2 separate regions of the Homo sapiens genome follow, and region 1 is linked to region 2. Evidence: promoter capture Hi-C in 16 types of primary human blood cells and fetal thymus (Javierre and others, 2016). All regions are on one chromosome and are shown on one strand. Each heading gives the region's core, a stretch centred on a gene start or on the middle of the fragment in contact. The rest is flanking DNA. Distances are from core to core; before and after follow the strand shown. Region 1 overlaps TMEM178A (transmembrane protein 178A). Region 2 holds the start of MAP4K3 (mitogen-activated protein kinase kinase kinase kinase 3).

The links. Contacts are between HindIII fragments. The CHiCAGO score rates a contact against its expected background, and 5 or more counts as called.
Region 1: a contact is called between a fragment that was not itself captured here and the fragment with the promoter of MAP4K3 in region 2, in 3 of 17 cell types (endothelial precursors, total B cells and naive B cells). The highest score is 7.5, in endothelial precursors.

Annotation. Positions count from the first base shown.
Region 1 is chr2:39,704,582-39,710,973 of GRCh38, reverse strand. TMEM178A (transmembrane protein 178A) reads right to left here. Exons shown (of 4, transcript NM_152390.3): 3 at 3,788-3,925. Among named protein-coding and RNA genes, the nearest start is that of TMEM178A, 42 kb to the right of the region's middle. The HindIII fragment of the contact is 5,873 bases long and covers 1-5,655 here.
Region 2 is chr2:39,433,769-39,440,187 of GRCh38, reverse strand. MAP4K3 (mitogen-activated protein kinase kinase kinase kinase 3) reads left to right here and starts at 2,903. Exons shown (of 34, transcript NM_003618.4): 1 at 2,903-3,296. The coding sequence starts at 3,201. MAP4K3-DT (MAP4K3 divergent transcript) reads right to left here and starts at 2,772. Exons shown (of 6, transcript NR_037875.1): 1 at 2,653-2,772. RefSeq lists silencers at 2,650-2,869, 2,940-3,299 and an enhancer at 3,630-3,709. The HindIII fragment of the contact is 5,405 bases long and covers 1,927-6,419 here.

The DNA of each region.
Region 1 (6,392 bases), core at 1,470-3,969, 270 kb before region 2:
GGCTGCTGTGTAACATGTGGTAATCAAGACCTGTCTGTGTGCAATCAATAAGGCAGAAGGAGAAATATCGTTTCAGAGTTTCCATTTTAACCAGCCAACCTGTCACATGGTTGATGTTCTTCATTTGAAGGTTTAGCTAATAAGTTCAGGCACAGAATGAAGATGGCAGAGCATTAGAAGGGGCTAAGTTTAGCATCAAAAATCTGTGGGAAGGATGCTGACTTGAGTGGCTAAAGACATTCTGCTTAATTAAAATCGATTCTTTTAACCCTTTTTTTGCTCTCATCTCCTACTGCATGTGAACGTTCTACAGCTAATTTATCTCAAGCAATAGATTGACATGGTTGTCTCAGTGTTTGCAAAGGAAATTTCAAGGCATTATTTGTAGTAACAAAAGCAAAACAAACGCCCCTAAATCCCACAGCAACAGAACAGGTGAATCCAGCATAGCATATCCACTCCATGCTCCTCCTCTCCCCTCTTCCATCCCCTCCCCTTTCTTCTCCTTCCTTTTCCTTTCTTGTTTTTTTACAGTGAAGCAAATACATGGCAAGATTTGGTCCAAAATAAAGGAAATATTGAAAAAAGGTTGTTTTGTTTTCAGGTGATGAGGTCTGTAAGTGGATTCCCCCTTAATTTCAATAACGTTGTTTGGGCAACCAAAACAAAACAACAGAACAATGTTAACAATGTTAGGTTGTATCTGTTAGTCCTTCAGAACTGGTCATCAAACTTCAAGTTTATTGTTTGGGTTTTTGTTGGTGGTGGTGGTGGTTTCTGTTGTGGCTATTGCTTTGCATATTTTGATGTTGCCTAACAATTACACAGGAGCTTCCCGTGCTCGATCCTGAGGACCTCTGAGCTCCTCTGGTCCAGAGGTACAATCCACACATGGATCCAAAATAAGGGCTGAGAACAGGGAGAGGTGGAGCTGGCCCAGGAAACTACTGCCTCTCCTCTGTGCCCACCTGCCATTGAACCTTCAACTTCCTTTCATTTAAAACCAGACTGGCCCCTCAGTCTCCCAAGGAGCACTCAGTAGGCTTTCATGGTCTTGTAATTTATTTTAGTTCTAACAATTGTTTCATTTGCTAAGAGCATACTAAACTATTCAGGCAGTACATATATTTAAAGTATCCTTTAAAAACTCCTCCTACTGAGGCTTTTGTCCACTCCAGAGCATCCCCCATTTTCCTGACAAGGGGAGTGTTATGGGGCCTTTCCCATGTGTTGGGAGGCAACACATCTGTACCTCTTTGATATTTATGGAGACAAGAGTCAGAGAAATGGGGGCTTAAATAAAGGGAGAGAAGAAAACGGGGGAGATTTTTAAATAACCATTAAGCCCCAGCAGAGGTGTAAAGGAATCCTCTGTGCAGTGCAGTCCTCTCTGGTTCTTTGCTGCCCGCGTCTGCTTTAGTCTATAATTTGGATTTTAAATGCATCCCTTGGGCAGGAACCCAGTGGCTGGTCTTGAGGGTCCAAATCCTCCTCTAAAACCTCAGAAACTAACATTTTAGCCTCCCTGTGCTACAGTCCTGGTGGCCACTGTGTATTCACCAAAATCTAGAAAACCTAAATTGGTTTTCTGCTGAGAACTAGGCAGCATCCATGTGACTTCTGAATGTTCCAGGATGCTGGTGATGATGCCCCACATTCCAGATCACTGCCAATTGCAGCACCATTTCGTGGAGTGGGATAGGGGTGAGTGGGAGTTAGAAGGAAGGATCCCTGCCTGTGATGTGGGTTCCTTAAGGCTGCAGGGTGGTTGAACATGCCAGAGGGCAAAGTACCCCCTACCCGTCAACGCTCAGAGACAGACAGTCAGCAAACAGTGTCAGCCCCGGTGGGGTGTGGCTGCCTCCTGTTAACGCAGGCTTAATTAAGTGACCCATTACAGTGAGAAGTGCAAGAAAATCTAGGCATAGTCACTTGAATAACAGAATTCCAAGCAAGTGGAAATAAGCCTATTTAAAATGGCTATCTATCTCGGGGAATATTAGTTCTGTTGCTGAGTATACTGTGTGAAACTGTTAATGCCCAGTTAATGTGGCATTCACTAATCATTAATACACGAGTTTTCTGTGAAGGAGGAGAAGAAAGGAAAGATTTCTTCCCTGAAGCTACCTTCGGTCAGTGTTAGCCATCAACTCAGCACCTGGCACATTTTTAGACAAAACTACCCTTTAGCTGTTAGTCAAAAAAATCCTAGCCCTGTCTCCACACCCCCATCTTTCCAATCCCTTCTTTAAAAATCGGCCGGGCGCGGTGGCTCACGCCTGTAATCCCAGCACTTTGGGAGGCCGAGGCGGGCGGATCACGAGGTCAGGAGATCGAGACCATCCTGGCTAACACGGTGAAACCCCGTCTCTACTAAAAATACAAAAATTAGCCGGGCATGGTGGCGCGCGCCTGTAGTCCCAGCTACACGGGAGGCTGAGGCAGGAGAATGGCGTGAACCCGGGAGGCGGAGCTTGCAGTGAGTCGAGATCGCGCCACTGCACTCCAGCCTGGGCGACAGAGCGAAACTCCGTCTCAAAAAAAAAAAAAAAAAAAAAAAAAAATCAAGTCACTCCTTTGCTTCAAACCTTCTAGTGGCGTTTGTCACCCTTAGCTTCAAATCCAAGCTCTCCACCATGACCAACAAAACCCTGACGCTTTGGCCACTGCCCACTTCCCCCACCTCATGTGATACTATCCTGTCCCTCACTCCCTCCAGCCCCACTGGCCGCTTCTCTCAGGTTTGGCACTGGCGGTTTCCCCAGTCTGCTACGCTCTTCCTACCACCGGCTGCTTCTCACGAATTAGCTGCGAAATCGCCACCTCAGCAAGATCTTCCCTGAGTCCCTGTTTCACCCTGTTTCTTTTCTTCACAGCTTTTATCACTACCACAAATCATTGTTTATGTCTCTCCACAATAAAAATGAACAAGAATTTTGCCTGCCTTATTCATTGTGTGTCTTTAGCACTCACAGCAGTGCCTCGTACATAGTAAGTCCTCAAAAGATATCTGTGGACTAAAATGAATGAGTGTTGTGTATGTAAAAATGACACCATCACTAAAGCATGCTTTGAATTGACATCCAGCGGGGCATGGGTTGTGCTGATCTATCCCCCTCTGTCTTTGAGGGCACCTCATAAGCAATGGTCCATGTTTGCCAAGAGTCCAGGCCAGGGTTTGGGGCACAGTATGAAAGAAGGAACAGAAGGTGGGGTGTGGTGGCTCTTGCCTGTAATCCCAGCACTTTGGGAGGCTGAGGCAGGCAGATCACCTGAGGTCAGGAGTTCGAGACCAGCCTGGCCAACATGGTGAAACCCTACTAAAAATACAAAAATTAGCCAGGTGTGGTGGCACATGCCTGTAGTCCCAGCTACTCAGGAGGCTGAGGCAGGAGAATCACTTGAACCCAGGAGACAGAGGTTGCAGTGGGGCAAGATCGCACCACTACACTCCAGCCTGGGTGACAGAGTGAGACTCCATCTCAAAAAAACAAAAAAGAAAAAAGAAAGTACAGCAAAAAAACAGACTGGGCTCATATAGAGATTAAACCCAAGACACTTCCATCCAACCTACTAACAGGCCACAATGGGGATATAGAGGATGCATTTCTCACACTGTTGTTTTCCTTAAATTCTGTATTTTCCAGCAAAGCCAAAATGACCTTCTGGTTGCTTTTCTAACAGTGAAAACAAAATTAACAGGGAGATAACAAAGCGACACTAGCTAGCCGCATGCAGAGCAGCCTTCACCTTGGCTGGGACAGACGGCCTGAGGCATGCAGCCTACCTGTCATGAGGAACAGGAGTCCAGCCACGTGCTGGGTCAAGCTCTCCTCCCAGAAGAAACTGACTGTGGCCACAATGCAGCCGCAGAGAAGGACGGCTACGGCCATGCCGAGGAAGCCAGCAGTGATTCTTCTTAAATCTAATCTCAAAACAGACACAGACATTCACAATCAGAATTCAGGAAAGTCATTAAGAATTAGAGAATTAGGGCTTTGTATACATTGTGAAAATTAGTAAGTTACATGGACAGGCTTAGAGCCCACAGGACAAGGAGGCATAGGGAATACTCTTCCCAGGTATTCCATAAGAGGACTGATGGGGTGTAACCAATGGAGGGTCAGACTATACCGTCTCTGAGTCCGTGGAGAAGTCCACACTAAGTGGAGAATAGACTAGAGGACAAGCCCAGGATAGACCTGAGTAACAGATGTCAAATGACTTAAACAAAGAGTGAGGTGGGTCTGAGAAATATCTGTTAGCCTTAACAGAACAATAGAAATGTAGGTTAACCAAAAACCACCTGTACCCCAAAAACTATTGAAATTTTAAAAGGGGAAAAAAAAGAAATGTAGGTTACTACCCTGGTAGTGGCTGTACTTAATCTAGCTTTGGAGAAAGAGCCTAAAAAAGCTATTGTGAAATAGGGTTTTATCTGATCACCACAGATGCCAATTATTTACTTCTTCATTTACATCTACTCCTGCCTATTTTCAAAAACAATTTGAGAAAGCGAAGGCAATTGTGGTGAGTGGAACAGTGGTGTAAAGTGCACACAGGATACATGTGCTCATAAACACCCTTTCCTCTGAAACATCTGCTCAGAAATGCCTTCTCCCCTAAAGCATAGATCCCACAACCTGGGCATCCATTTACCCAGGTGAAGGAAGTACTAGTCCAATAGGATGAGTCTCCACTACATAATCTCCACTATACAGTGGCCCAACTGTCTAGTTTGGTCTATTGCAAAAACACAACTGTGATCACTGAGCCAGAAATCCAGCTCTTTCCCCACATGCCTGACAAAACCAAGAGGTAGGCTGACTACGTGTACCTGGACACAAGTTGCCTCCAACTGCTAAACCAGCACTCACCTTGCCTACCTTCCAGCTATTTTACTTTTTCTATTTTCTTCCTTCTTTTTTTAAAAAATGCTTTTGAATCTTTTCTATTTACCTTGCAGCTCCATCTCAAAGGATTTTTTTTAACAAAACTAACTTTAAAAATTGTTCGCTAAATTTCAATCACCCTTCTTAAAACAACACATCCCAAGCATACATCTGCTGCCCCCAAGGCCAGGTAACAGGTCTGGGCAAATGCACGTGGATCATCCACACCTGTGTACACATGGGGCCAAGACAAGGTGCAGATCACACTGTTCGAAGTGTGGGCTGCTCTGCTAAAGTGAAAGTGCCCATGCAGCCATCACTTTATTGTGTGTTTGTGTGGCTCCTGGGCAGCTTAGGGGCGGCTTCATGGAGGATGGATTACAGTAGCTTCCAGTCTTGCTCTTAGCACCTTAGCCACAGAGAGACCATCCCTTTTTTAAAGAGGGATTTCTCATTTCCCACTCAGAGCATCCAAATTAAAAGAGAGTATTTCTGCCTAGAAGAAGAAATGTGGACACCAATGAATAAGGGGCCAGGAGCAGTGATAATTTAAAGACGCTGAGTTTAATGTTAAGGGTATAAGTAGTTTTTGAGACAGCCACATCTGAGCAGGGGAAATGTAGTATGGTTCAGTCACCATTATCTTACAGCCTCCCAAATTTCCTATGGTTTGAGTGATAGTCTATTTTCTGTGACTCTGAAAAGGCACAAGGTTCAGATATAATCCACATGGGATTTGCATTAGTACCAGTCATGTTAAGCTTATATAGTAAATGTGCTACAGATCACCAAGTGTGACTTTCTTAGAAATAGACATGCATGAGACTGCTAAAAGCATCTTTCCATGAGAACTCCAAAAAGGATTAAAAGAAGAATCTTCAAATACTGCCTTGCTGGGCAATCACAAGGTACAAACTATTAAAGAGCTAAGGTTCTTTTTCAGGCTCCTATGATGATCTTTTCTCCCCTGACCTGAGCCAGTAACTACATGGCTCTCTGGAAAGATGATTAAGTCTTAAAGTTGCCTGCCATAATATGTATATTAGACCACTGCTCTGGCAATATCATAAGAGCTTCCATTTATGTGTTTGAGATTCAGAACAGAGCCTTTTAATCCGCAGAGAGATTTACTTACAGAATGAGAGACTCTGATTAGTTTTCTACAGTGGCTTTGGCCACCAAACAAGATCCTGAAGTCCTTGTTACTTATTTCATTGGAAAATGACAATGTCAACCTCTGATGGGGGCAAAGACCAAAAAAATTCACAGTAGTTTTTCGTTTCGGGGAGCTATCTATCATCAGGCAGCTTAAATCAACAGTTTTTAGGTAAATATCAGCCCTCTTTAGTTTCACACTGCATGATGCTTTCTAGAGTTTCACATTTTCCTGACAGTGAAAAAGAATAGTTCCTTTCATTGAGATGTAGACACCCTCTGAGAAAATTATGACATACACTCATAAAGGTATTTTAGCAGAAATACAAAGGTCGGAGATGAACA
Region 2 (6,419 bases), core at 1,654-4,153:
ATAGACTAGTGGCTAAGAATCTAGCCTTGGTGTCATACTGCCTTTGTTCAAATTTCAGCCTTCTGTGTTACCTTGAGCAGTTTAATCTGTCTGTGCCTCATAAAATGGAGATAATATTACCTATGTCATTAGGTTGTTGTGCGAATTAAATGAAATAACACATGAAAAATACTTGGCTCCATTCCTGGTATCTTGTAAGCACTTAGCAATGTTAGAAATTACTACTTTTCTCCTAGTTATTATGATCATTTACTAGCACTGTATCACAACGAGGTGGGTTGTTTTGGGAAGCAATGAGTCACCTTTTATTGAAAGTATTCAAGCAGCAGCAAATCCAGCAGAGATGCTGTAGAAGCAGTTCCTGAGTTAAAAAGATTAGATGACTTCTAAGAATGCTTCTAATCATAGAAGAGGGAAGCTCTTTCTCTGATTCTAGGAAAGTGTGATCATTAGTGTTACTTCTAGCAAAACTGAGGATTGTTAGAACAGGGGGAAAAGGCACTGGAATTGGCCACATGCATATATTACAAAAAACAAAATATTTTCTTTGTGAGCAGTTGTTTTACTTATGTTGTAACCCACATGGCAAATCAGGCCCTTACATGGAAATTCATCTCTTCTCAAAAGGACTAGCTTGGCCCTGCCAAAATGGAACAGACAAAACTTTAAAGACTGTTCTAGCCCTACTGAAATGTCTTTTCCTTTTGAAAGCAGTCTATTAGTGATGCAAATGCAAAGTTATTTGGACAGACGATAATCTCAGCAAACAAAACACTGAAGTCATTAGAACTTTCTTGTGCAGCTTTCAGTCCTGAGAATTTGGCTTTCTGGCACTAAAAAGGCAGAGGCCGGGTGCAGTGGCTCATGCCTGTAATCCCACCACTTCAGGAGGCCGAGGCAGGCGGATCATCTGAGGTCGGGAGTTCAAGAGCAGCCTGACCAACAAGGAGAAATCCCATCTCTACTAAAAATACAAAAATTAGCTGGGTGTGGTGTTGCATGCCTGTGATCCCAGCTACTTGGGAGGCTGAGGCAGGAGAATCGCTAAGAACCCGGGAGGCAGAGGTTTCAGTGAGCTGAGATTGCACCCTTGCACTCAAGCCTGGACAACTAGAGCGAAACTCCTTCTCAAAAAAAAAAAAAAAAAAAAGGCAGAGGAAAAGAGCAGACCTGGCTTCCATTTGGGATAATTTGTCAGGTCTGCTTATCTGAATCCTTGGCTAATTATTCTTGCGCTTGGCCTAAACATGCCAAACAATTCTCCAAATGTGGACAAACTGAAGGAAGGCCTGTAATCTGGGTCCTGGGCAAGTACCTTAAACAAGCAAAAGCAAGACCTTTGGCTATGGAATAACATTTATAGTCAGGAGTTTCTCAAGATACCAGAGCCTGAAGGTAGATCCATCGAGAAGATATTCAATGATATGCACTCCTAAGGCAATAATTTAAGTGATACTTTCATATTACTGATGCTTTAAAATTTAATAATTAAAAATTACACAACTGAAAGGCTACTTATATAGGTGAAGAGATAACCATTTTCAAACATCAATTTAGTCAACAGATACTCAAAGTAAACAATTTGAGAATTTAGTACATATGCAATTTTCCTATGAGCAAAAGGATTCAAAAGATTTTTTGAAAAAGTATGAAGCAGTTAACTCTAAGTAGTTTGCTCTACTATTAATTTATTATACTTATCCTTAACAGGTTTGATGAGACCTAGTTTCTCAGGAGCCACGAGGTATTAGGGAATATTAGTGGTTAGAAGGTGTGGTGCCTAAGGGGATTAGGAAAGCATTTCTGAAGCAAAACTCCAACGTGGTATTGCCAAAGTGGCCATCACCTAATTGATTAAAGCTCCTGCAAATGTCTATTGGGAAGTTCAATGAGAACAGAAAAATAACCTTCCATTACCCTCAAGCTTTCTTGGGCAAGTATTAACAATCGGAGCTGGAGTCCACATAGCTCAGATGTAAGACGCGCAATCTGGGTCTTAAGCAGGGTGGGGTTTTTGGGTAGGTAAGGTCACAGCTAAAGAGCTTCCGGATCGTCACGTGTTTATATTTCAGGTGCGGTAATAGATCTAGTCCACTCTCCACCCCTTCTTTACAGGGTTGCTTGACAGCCTGCGCAGTCCCCGCCCGTCTTTGATAATCCAACCCTCTTCGAAGAGGGAGGTCAATCACTGCTTTAGTTCTGCGCTCTGCCTGCCTCCCACGCGGGATGGTGGGCAGCTGTTCCGCGTGTTTTCCTCCCGGAGCTTTCACGCTCTGCCCACTGCACACACCTCCCTCGCGGCCCTCCTGGCCTGCCCTCCTTTGCACCCTGGCAGGCCAACTCCAAGGGTCCGAGTGTCGGTGACAGGGGCAAGCAAGCACAGCTCACTTTTCCTGGGGGTTTTCCTCACGGTGTGTTTAGTGACCCCTCCCCGCAATCCCAGAAAGGCTGCAGCACTCCATGGTATCCTACATGTAGCTGCTTCTAAAATAATAAAGGCTGGGACATTGGCTGTCTTGGATATTACCACTATGCTACCTGCTTGGAACTGGGACCAGATAGACCAAGGTCCAACTTTGTCGTTAGGGGAATCAGAAACGAAAAGAAGCCACTTTCTGCTAGTCCTAACCCCGGTCCCTGGGCCAGGCAAACCTTTTCAAGCGTCCGGCGGCAGCGGCCGGGCGCGGGTCCGCAGAAAAGCCGAGGCGTTTCGGGTCCCAAGCTGTTCCGCCGCCGGCCCCGGCCTGGCAGGCGCGCGGAGCCGGAACGCGCAAGGGGTCGGGTGCGCGCCAGGCCTGGCGCGCTCCCTCCGGGATCGCGGCTGCGCAGTCGGGCGGGAGTCGGGAAAAGGGGAGGAGGTTGGAGGAGCCGGAGTAAGGGGAGGGGGAGGAGCGGCGAAAGCGGAAGCCATGTTGGAGTTTCACCCCGAGCGAGGGGCTGCGAGGGTTCTCCTCTCCTTGTGGGTGTGACCAGGTTCGGCGCGGCGGCGGGCCGCGGGGGGCGGGGACGATTGGCCGCTTGTCGTCGTCCGCAGCGGCGTGAGGGGAGCGGCGGCGGCGGCGGCGGCCGCAGCGTGGAGCCGGGTGATTGTGACCGCCGGGGGAGCCGGGAGCCGGCCGCGGCGCCCTCTCTCCGTGTGGCCCCCTGAGCGGCCCCCCTCCCCTGCCCGGGAGGGAGGCGGGGGGCACCTGGGGCCCGCCATGAACCCCGGCTTCGATTTGTCCCGCCGGAACCCGCAGGAGGACTTCGAGCTGATTCAGCGCATCGGCAGCGGCACCTACGGCGACGTCTACAAGGTAAAGGCAGGGGCCGCGCGCCGCCGAGGCCGTGGGATCCCGACCCGCAGCCAAGCCTGGGCGTCCGAGCCCTTGCCGCCTGTCCTCGGGAGACGCTGGCGCCAGGGAGCAGTCGGGGAGGAGGAGCTGCGGACGCCAAGGGCTCTGCTGCCTTGGTGAACAAAGGGCCGAATGTTTAACCCCGAGACCTCCCCAGCCCTTACCTGAGCCCCCCCGGTGGACATGATTTTTGCCACCTCCCTTCTTGCGCGCATTTCCAGGGAAGGGCAGAACGAGAGCAGGCCACACTGCTCATCCATAGTGCAGAGAAGGTCTGGGCGTTTGTTGCGTTGGCAGGGTCAGCGCGACGAACCGGACAGCAGGGGTCTGGTGTTGTCAAACCTGCCTGCTTCACGCCAACCTGGGGTCGTCCGCTCTAGGTTGGGAGCTGCTGCCCACCAGGCCTCGGTGGTAGTTATTATACTATGCTGAGCGACCTCCATCTTCCATCGACAGCTCTCAGCCTTTAGCGCCTTATTCATCCCCCTGTCAGTTTCTTTTAATTTTCCAGAGTAATGACTTTTTTTTTTTTTTGGAAAGAGCAACTTTGTTTTCTCTAAGTCGAATTGGACTGCGATGCCATTTAAACTTGTTTTTTAAAAAGTGACTTGAATACTTAGGGAAGGTACTGGTTTGACAAGGTTAGAATTCAAAGTCCAGTAGCGGTACAGCATTCCTGTTGTAGAGGGACCACTTCTAAATGTGGGAAGATAAATCACTCTTCCCTGGCCAACTCAACTCTTGGCCTCACAGTTACTGCCAAGAAGAGAGGAGGTTGTTGCCAAATGTGGCAGCAGTCTTGATTTAGTTGTGTATCTTCTTACTGGTAACTGAAGTTGAACTCCTCCAGTTTCACATAACACCTGAGGATGCACAAAGAAACTTAATTTTGCATTGGAAAGTTCAGTCTTAACTTTATTTTGCCCATGTTTAAGCAGGTTTTTACTCTTCAGTGTAATGCCTGTGGTAACTTACATATTTAATACAGTGCAGCCAGTGTTCTGCTTTAGTCTGATTTTCTGGATGATCTACTTTTCACCATCGTGGATCTCATCACTTTTCCTACTATGCAATATAGATATATTGAGCCCACCTACAATGTATGAGATACTTGGCAAGTAAGCACTTTGGGTTGTAGCAGTAAACGATAGACTTGGTTCCAAATCTTCCTAAGTGTTTCTATTTTTTTGGACAAGGACAGTATTAAATAGCCATTTAAATAATTATTGCCGTTTAATTTTGTGATGCAGAAAAGAGTATTAGGATCAGGGTTATGAGAGCATGTAATAGGAGGACCTGATCCTGTTTAGGGTATCAGACGCTCATCGCCTTTCAGCTGAGATCTCAGAGATGATTAGGCGTTGCTTAGGGTACTGGGGAGAGGGGATTACGCCAGATAGGGGAGCATGATATGTGAAGGCTCTGAGGCCCGATGTGAAAGAAGGCCTGTATAGCCTGAGCAGCCAGAGCGGGAGGGTGGCCCTAGATCTTGCAGGCCTCTTAGTTCTCATTAGGAGATCGGACTTGTTTAGGACAATGGGGAACTATTGCAGGCTTTTAAGCAGAGGAGTGACATTAGATTTAGGTTTTTAAAAGAGCTCCCTACTACAGCATGAAGAGTGGAATGGAGCAGTTGGGAGGCCACTGTGATAGTCTAGGTAAGAATAATGGTGTTAAGGAATATGGTGATGACTGTGAAAGTAGAAGTGGATGGATGCAAGTCACTTATGACTGGTTGGGGGAGTTCGCTTATATTGCGATGAAAAGTTAACTAAAACTCGATGAATGTATACGTTTTAGGTGGCAGGGTATACAGTGAATTTTTTTACAGGACTAATTGGCTGTGTACTTGCTATATTAAAAAGAACAGTTAGTAGTTAAGCCACATGATTAAAAAGCAAAAAAAAATTAGGGCCTGTAATTTCCTAAGTGTAATAGAGGTATACTAAGTTGGTTAATCTTGTCATTCGTTTAAAATAATGATAATACTAGCTGATGTTTATGGAATGCTTGTTACTTGCCAGGCACTATAAGATTTTTCTAATTAATCCTAACAGCAACCCTGTGAGATAGGTGCTATTGTTAACTCCATTTTGCAGTTGAATAAACTGAGGCACAAGGAGATTAACTTGCCAAAGTTGGTAGGTGGCAAAGCCAAAATTTGAACCAATTAGGGACTGTATTCTTAACCAATTGGCAGTGCTGCCTCTCTAAAGATAGGAGATGGGCAGATAATGTATTACATTTCCAGTGGAGAAACTGAGGCACACATTTAGTTTAGCATTTGAGTTGTAGCCACACTCTGAGTCAGTGTAGATCTTTAAGTAGTAGTTGGAATACCTAATTCCTGCTGTGCCACAAGGTCTCACTGTTTATGTAGTCTGCCAAGTGGATATCAGATAATAGATGCTTGGTCCCTGCCTGCCAGACTCTTCCAATACCAGTGACCAAAGCAGAGAAACTTCATGTGGTTCTTGACATCATGTACCCCTGCCTGCCAAACTCTTGTTTATGTTTTTGTCTATAATCAAGTTTATTCTATAAAGTTACATTTTTTTGTTATTTGTTTTGCTGTTTTAGTTTTTTCTTATTTATACAAATTAATTGTGCTAGAGAGAAGTACATTTTGTTTTCAAAAGCCAATATATATAATTTGTTCCTTAATTTGTCAGCATTTACGTGCTAAAAATGGAATGATTGGATTAAATAAATAAGAGATCCGATTATAGTCATTCTTGGAAGGTTGGTGGAGATTTTTATTTTGAAAATGTTTTCCTACTCAATGTAATAACATATTTATTGTACTTAAGGTGGCGTGGTTTAGTTCCAAAGCACTGAACAAGGATGTGGACAATCTGGGATTTATTAGCTATGTGACCTTGTGAAATCAACCTCTCAGAGCTGTTTTGTTGTGGAGATATTATTACCATCATATGCCCTTCTTCTTTTGGTATTGACTAAATGACTCAAATTTTACTTAGTAAGTAAGTTATCTTTATTTTTTTCAGGCCAATGCATATATACATTTTATCTGCACTGTCTAAAGTCGTATCTTGTAAGTGTCGTGTAACTCTGCAGGCTTTA